Linked DNA regions of Homo sapiens: region 2 is linked to region 1. Evidence: promoter capture Hi-C in 16 types of primary human blood cells and fetal thymus (Javierre and others, 2016). All regions are on one chromosome and are shown on one strand. Each heading gives the region's core, a stretch centred on a gene start or on the middle of the fragment in contact. The rest is flanking DNA. Distances are from core to core; before and after follow the strand shown.

What was found. Contacts are between HindIII fragments. The CHiCAGO score rates a contact against its expected background, and 5 or more counts as called.
Region 2: a contact is called between a fragment that was not itself captured here and the fragment with the promoter of HMHB1 in region 1, in 1 of 17 cell types (monocytes). The highest score is 5.1, in monocytes.

Annotation. Positions count from the first base shown.
Region 1 is chr5:143,810,550-143,814,040 of GRCh38, forward strand. It overlaps HMHB1 (histocompatibility minor HB-1), which reads left to right and starts at 1,612. Exons shown (of 2, transcript NM_021182.3): 1 at 1,612-1,755. The coding sequence starts at 1,719. The HindIII fragment of the contact is 5,854 bases long and covers 1-3,491 here.
Region 2 is chr5:143,341,949-143,345,438 of GRCh38, forward strand. All of the region lies in intron 2 of NR3C1 (nuclear receptor subfamily 3 group C member 1), which reads right to left. Among named protein-coding and RNA genes, the nearest start is that of NR3C1, 60 kb to the right of the region's middle. The HindIII fragment of the contact is 1,406 bases long and covers 813-2,218 here.

The DNA of each region.
Region 1 (3,491 bases), core at 362-2,861:
CATGTATGCACCACCGTGCCTGGCTAATTTTTTATTTTTTATTTATTATTTTTTTTTGTGTGGGGATGAGGTCTATGTTGACCAGGCTGGTTTCAAACTCCTGGGCTCAAGCGATCCTGCTGCCTTGGCCTCCCAAAGTGCTGGGAATTACAGGTGTGAGCCACAGTGCCTGGCTAAGATGGAGTTTTATATACAGAATTATCAGGCCTTCTTTCATATCTCATCCTCAATATGCAAATAACTAATTCATTTAGCAAATATTTATTGAACGTCCATTATGTATGAGGCACTATTGTAAGTATTGGAATAAGTGCAGTGAACAGGTCAGATATGGTAACTGCCTGGATGGAGTTTATGTTATAATGGAAGCAAATAGACACAAGAAATATGATCGCATCAGGTATTTATAAGTGTTATGGTGAAAATAATGCAGAGTAATCTAATCTAGGGAGTGAGAGGGTGACTAGGGTCACCCATGTGGTGGCTAGGTGCCTGGGTCTGGCGTTGCACTTCTTCCATTCAAATCCTGGCTCCATGCACCTCTGGCTCTATGGCCTTGTCCAGTTGTGCACTCTCTAAATCCCAGTTTTGTTACCTGTAAAATGGACATATTAACATTACCTACTTTAAAGAGGTGTTTTAAAGAAAATGGCTACTCCTAACATCTCCCCAAGAACCAAGCACAGAATTTTGGAAGTTTTAATATATTTTCTTAAAGAAGTCTCTTTCTCAGCATTGTAAGACAATTAACTAGATTCAAGTCTCAGAGTTGTTAAGTTATTTTATCTTAAGGCATCCAACGGCACAGATTGACATTAAAGTGAAAGAAGAACTAGCTTCATCATTGCCATTGTTCTTTACCATAGCCCATGGGAACACAGGACCCGGCTGACTGAGAAAAGTGAATGAGGGGAATTATATCAGAAATGACAGAGAAGGATGGGCAGGATTTCTGGCAGGCACAGGTATTTCTAAGTAAGAAATGGTGTGGTTAGGAGAGAATACTCTCAAGAAGGGGAGAGATGGATTCTGCGGCAAAGGGAGGTTCCTTCATTCAGTGTTTATGGAGAGAATAAAGGCGCTGGCCCCTCCAGTGAGGATATGGAGTAAACGAGACAATCAAGTCCATCACTCCTGGAGCCTGCATTCTAGTGTGGAAGACAGACAGCAAATGATACATCAACATTAAGAAATTCATGAGTAAATAAAGATAATTTCAGGCAATAATAATTACTCTGAAGAACATAAACAGGGACCTATGATAGAAAAGGGGTGTAAAGGAGTTTGGAGGATTTAAGCTGAGTGAGCAATCTCATCTCTATTTTGATAAGGTCACTGTGGATTCTGTGTGGATAACACATTGGATGTGGATAAGAACAGGAGCAGAGAGACCTCCAATAGCAGGAGGCTGCTCTAGGGGTCCTTGCAAGGGATGCTGGCAGCTTGGACCCGAGTGGTGGGATGCAGATGGAAGAGGCAGGTGGACAGATGAGACAGCTGAAGCAGGAAAAGCAGGCACAAAGGCTAACACAACACAATGTAACAGAACGGGAGTTTAGAACGGAAGGAACACTCCAGAGTCATTCTGGTCCAATTCTGCAGATGAGGAAACCACATCCCAGGAGGCCGAGGCGGCTTGCCCCGCATCTCAGAAGCCGGGCAGGCCCTGAGCCTTCTGACCTCACATCCTCTGCCACACCACAGTGGAGAAACCAGAACTGGAGGAGCAGCCAGAATGCAGAGAAGAAAAAAGAGGTGAGGGAGCGAGGAGGAGGGAGAACAGAGAGAGAGGGAAAGAGGCAGCGAAGGGGCAGAGAAAATGAAAGAAAATGCTGGTGGAATGAGAGGGAAACCACAACAGGTGAAAACAGGGATGGCGGAAGGCAGGGGAGAGGAGTGAGACGGCCCTTGTTGCTGGGATTATTTAGGGCGGATAGTTTCCAGTTGAGGTTCGGTTTCATAGCCCATTGCCTGGCTGCCTGCAGCTGTCAGGGCACCAGAGGCAGCAGTTGGAGCAGCTGCCTGCACCACCTGAGCCACAAGGACAACGGCAAGGGAAGTGCAGATGGGCAGGAAGTCCCTCTGGGTCGGAGCCAGGGTAGCCAAGATCACATTGTTCTTGCCCACCGCGTGGGATGCTCAGGCTTCCCAAGGCAGCCCAGAGACCAGACCCGTCCTTTATCCTTAGCATGGCCACCATCATCACCATCATCGCCATGCTCCCACTTCTTAGGATCATGTGCCGGGGGCTTTGCATGCATTTCTCTCTTTCATCCTCACAGAAGCACTTGAGGGGGGTATAGCTTTCCCCAGTTTACAGATAAAGACACGATGGCTTCATTCCTTAACTCACTAACCTCATTTCAGAGCCAGGAAATGGCAGAAAGGCCCTGCTGTCGTGTTTTTTGTTTGTTTGTTTGTTTTTTTGTCTTGTTTTCTCCTCTTGAAGAGGACACACGGAGCCCTGGGTTGACGTTATAGGAGGTGTTGGTGCCGTGCACTGAAGGGATCTGCTGTTTTCTCCTTCCTGCAACTGGAGGTCACTCAGCCTGGACTGATGAGGCCGGGGAAGCCTGTGCTCTGTCTGGTCCACACAGCCCCCTCAGCCACCCCAGGGAATGCTCAGATCCAGTTGCACAGGTAGCCCACAGAATACAAACAGAACTTTCTTTTAGAATTTTTATGCTGTTTTATTGTTTCATACAGACAACTACCGACCTTCCCTTTTTTCCTTCAAGGCCCCTTTCAAATGTCACCTCTTCTATGAAGGTTTTATTTCTTTCCAGGCAAAATAAACCACTCCCTTTTTGGTGCCCTCATAGTTTTACATTTTGGCCTAAAGCACTTGTTCGCCTCCTCCATCAGAGCATGGGATTCTTGAGGGAAGGAACTGTGTTTTAATCATTTCTGTATCCTTGGCATCTAGCACAGTGCTTGGCACAGTAAAAGCTGTCAATAAATGTTAGCTGAACTGAAAAGTAAAAAATGGAAAGGGCATTTGTTGGGGCCAGCATAAGTCAACTGTTTCCATCCTTGTTTCCTTAACTCAGAAACTCAAATGAAGAAAGACATTGTCAGTCTCATGAGCAGTCCATATTTTTTTTTATTGGTGAGAGATAAAGTAAATGGCATGTGGATTTCCTTTGGAAGAATAACAAATAAAATTCTTTTGTAAGGATGTGAATTATAAAATTAACTTTTTTTATCTCCAGATTGTCATTTTGCAAGGAAAAAAATATAAGTAATAAATATGAACATACCTTTTTTATTTCAGACTTTTGCTCCATAGGCAATAGAAATGAGATGGCCAATTACAGTATTGAAGCAGAAGTACAGATATAACTCAGTGCAGAGGCAAATATGGCACATGATATTTTCATATTTTTATGTGTTACTATGAGTAACACTATTGCAAATTCATTTTATTTATGATTTGGTCTTTGTAGCTCCAATTTCATTATTAACTGAAATTTCATAGCATCATTCTTACT
Region 2 (3,490 bases), core at 266-2,765, 470 kb before region 1:
TCCTGACTCACTTCTACTGGTGCTTGTCCAGGATGATGCAATTATTGAATCATAAGCTGTTCCACTGATGCCATGTTCAAAATGACAAGTCTCAGTCTCTCAGACTTTCAACAAGAATCTACGACAGCCACAGTCAAAACAGTATGAATAACAAAAAGGTGCCATGCAGGTGTTTCACAGAAAAAAAAAAACCAAGAAACTATTACATTTTAAGAATTAAAATTTCTTTCCTTCTGGTTACTTCGTTTAGTCTGTTCATTTTTTATGATCATACTATAATGACGGAGGCTAACTCTTGCTTAGTACGTGGCAGGCACTATGCCAAATCATCTACAGGAATTATCTTGGTTATTTTAATCTTGGCAACATCTCTGAGAATGGGTTCTATTAATATCCCCACTTAAGGGATAAGGAAACTGAGGCTTAGAAGGTCTACTGTCCAAGGTCACCAAGGTGGTGGCTCTGTGAGAACTGGAATCTAGATTCTCAGACCTCCAGGGGAGGAGTTTACTCAATGCATTCTGTTGTTGCTCTCCATATTGATGACATATCAATGACATTTATTATGGAAAAACATTTGCTGAATCAATTTAAGAGAAGTTGGAAATGTCAGTAAAAACCTTCATAGCAGTATGAGAATATGTTTCCAAAAACCAGGAGAAGGAGATGCCCCAAAATGTTTTAAGAAGGAATCAGAAAGTCCTGAGCAAGGAAGCATCGAAAAATGATCGAGTTCCTAGCCAGGAGCCAGGAAATGTGCTTTGTAATTGGAATTATAACTGCCCTGAGTAAAACAGATTGTGTTTTCATGAAGCTTCAACAGCTCATTGTAGGAGACATACAAGGAAAAGGCCAGTTAAAATACACTGTGATTCATGCCGCCATGTGAGAATATCAAAGGACCTTTAGACATAGAGAGGTGTCAGAGAAGTCTTCTGATTTGCTACGAGCTGGAAAGGTAAGTAGAGAGGGAAGTCGAGGAAGAGAAGACAGTCATGTGTGAAGTTTCCTGGCACCCAGAGTATAGCTCTTTTAGGGGAACCCAAAGACAACAGAAGATGACAAAAAAATATACTAAATAACACTAGAAAACACTGTCCAACCAAGGTTCTAAGTGATCTGAAAGTCACAGGTTAAATTTCATAAGGACAAATATAAGATAGCATCTAGGGAATGGAAAGTGACAAGCACAATGGTCATACTGCCTTTTCATATTTAGAATGGCACAGTATTCTAGTGCAATGCAGAGCCCAGAACTAGGAAATGGGCAACTACTGGGATTCCAGATATCTTTCTATCACCAACTCACAGGGTGACAATCAACAGCTCTTTCAGCTTCCCTGGGTTTCGGCTCCCTCTTTGGTAACTCATGGATAAAGCTAATTGTCTAGCAGGAGGCAGGTTGCTTGACCTGATAGTCTCCTCGGGACTTTCTAAAATCAATGACTCTCTAACTCAGATACATGATGGCTAACAACCAGGGATGAACAACAATACTATCTTAATGAGAACCACTAATAGAAATTAACACTATGTGTGAGGTAGGTACTATTATTATCCCCATTATATAGACAAAGAAAAATGCAAACTCAGAGAAGTTAAATTATCTGCACAATTTCATATAACTAGCCATTAGTGGAGTCAGAGTTCTCTTTCAGGCATCCCAGCTACAGAGTCCATATCCCTAACCATCAGAATATGCCATATGCTTCCTCTTTCTTACAAGTTGCAATATTCCCAGTATTGTTACTCTGTGTGTATTTATGATACGTAACTTTTTAATCTTCATAATATTCTTGGAAGGTGTTATTCCCATTCAGAGATGAAATCAAAACCTTGAGAGTTCCTACAGGGATTTAGTTGTGGCACTGGGCCTAGATTTTATCATGACCTCTATCACTATGCTCTTTCAAATACAGCAAATTATAGAGATTAAATAAACCAGCATCATAGATAAATGAACTGCAAATCTCATTCACTCAATTTTTTGTCATCAATTAATTTATAAAAAGAATATTAGTATTAACAAAAGATATTTTACTTTTATAAATCAGTCACTGTCAGCTATTTTTTTTTCTAAATTGTAGAATTTTACTAATTATGTTCCTTTTGGACTGTATAAGATGTAGCACCTTTAAGTTATTTAACTATGACATAGTGCTTAGAATTTAAACATTTTTAAACATTATATTTTGCTATGGCTCATTTGGAAAATCTAAGCTTTAAAAAGACTAAGACAAATTAGGTAAGAGAGAAAAAGTAGACTCCCAACAATTTTTCATACCCATATCGTACAAAAGTTTGCTTTTCTAATATTATAAAGCCAATTCTTAAATTTTATTTCAGCATGTCCTGATAGTACACAGGTGAAACCAAACAACCACCACATCAAAATAATAGCAAAGACAACAACTAATACTAATTAGTTATTATGGTCTAAGTACTTTATTAATTCTAATTCTTACAAAAACCTTATGCATTATTACTAGCCCCATTTTATGAATGAGGACATTTAAGCTCAGAAAGGGTTGCTAACTTTCCCAAAGAAAGTCACACAACTAGAAAATAGCCATACGGCAGGTCTTTGAATAATGTTTTGTTCAACATTGTTTTAACGTTGATGAGAAAAAAAAAATGATGCTGACTGGGCGCGGTAGCTCACGCCTGTAATCCCATCACTTTGGGAGGCCAAGGCGGGTGGATCACCTGAGGTCAGGAGTTCCAGACCAGCTTGGCCAACATGGTGAAACCTTGTCTCTACTAAAAATACAAAAATTAGCCAGGTGTGGTGGCGGGCGCCTGTAATCCCAGCTACTTGGGAGGCTGAGGCAGGAGAAACTCTTGAACCCGGGAGGTGGAGGTTGTAGTGAGCTGAGATCACACCACTGCACTGCAATCCAGCCTGGGTGACAGAGTGAGACTCCATGCCCCACCCTCACCCCCCACAAAAAAAAGAAAAAAAACTGATGCCTGCCCAGCTCTGTCCAGGGCCACTGTCTGTGTAGAGTTGGCTCGTTCTTCCCATGTCTGTGTAGTTTTTCTCCAGATACTTCGCTTTCCTCCCACATCCCGAAGCTGTGTGTGATACGGTAACTGGCATGTCTGAAGGGTCCCAGTTTGAGTGTGAGTGTGCATTTGAGTGCACCCTACAATGGGGTGGCGTCCTGTCTATAGGGTCAGTTGCTCTGAGCTATGAGTATAAGCTGCAGGCCCCCTGGACCCTGAACTGGAATGAACACATTGGAAAATGAATGAATACAAATTATTATTATTGTTTTTTGAGACAGAGTCTAGCTCTGTCACCAGGCCGGAGTGCAGGGGCACAATCTCGGCTTACTGCAACCTCCACCTCCCAGGTTCAAGCAATTCTCCTGCCTCAGCCTCCCAAATAGCTGGGATTACAGGTGTGTACCACCACACCTGGCTAATTTTTGTATTTTTAGTAGAGATGGGGATTCCCCATGTTGGTCAGGCTGGTGTTGAACTCCTG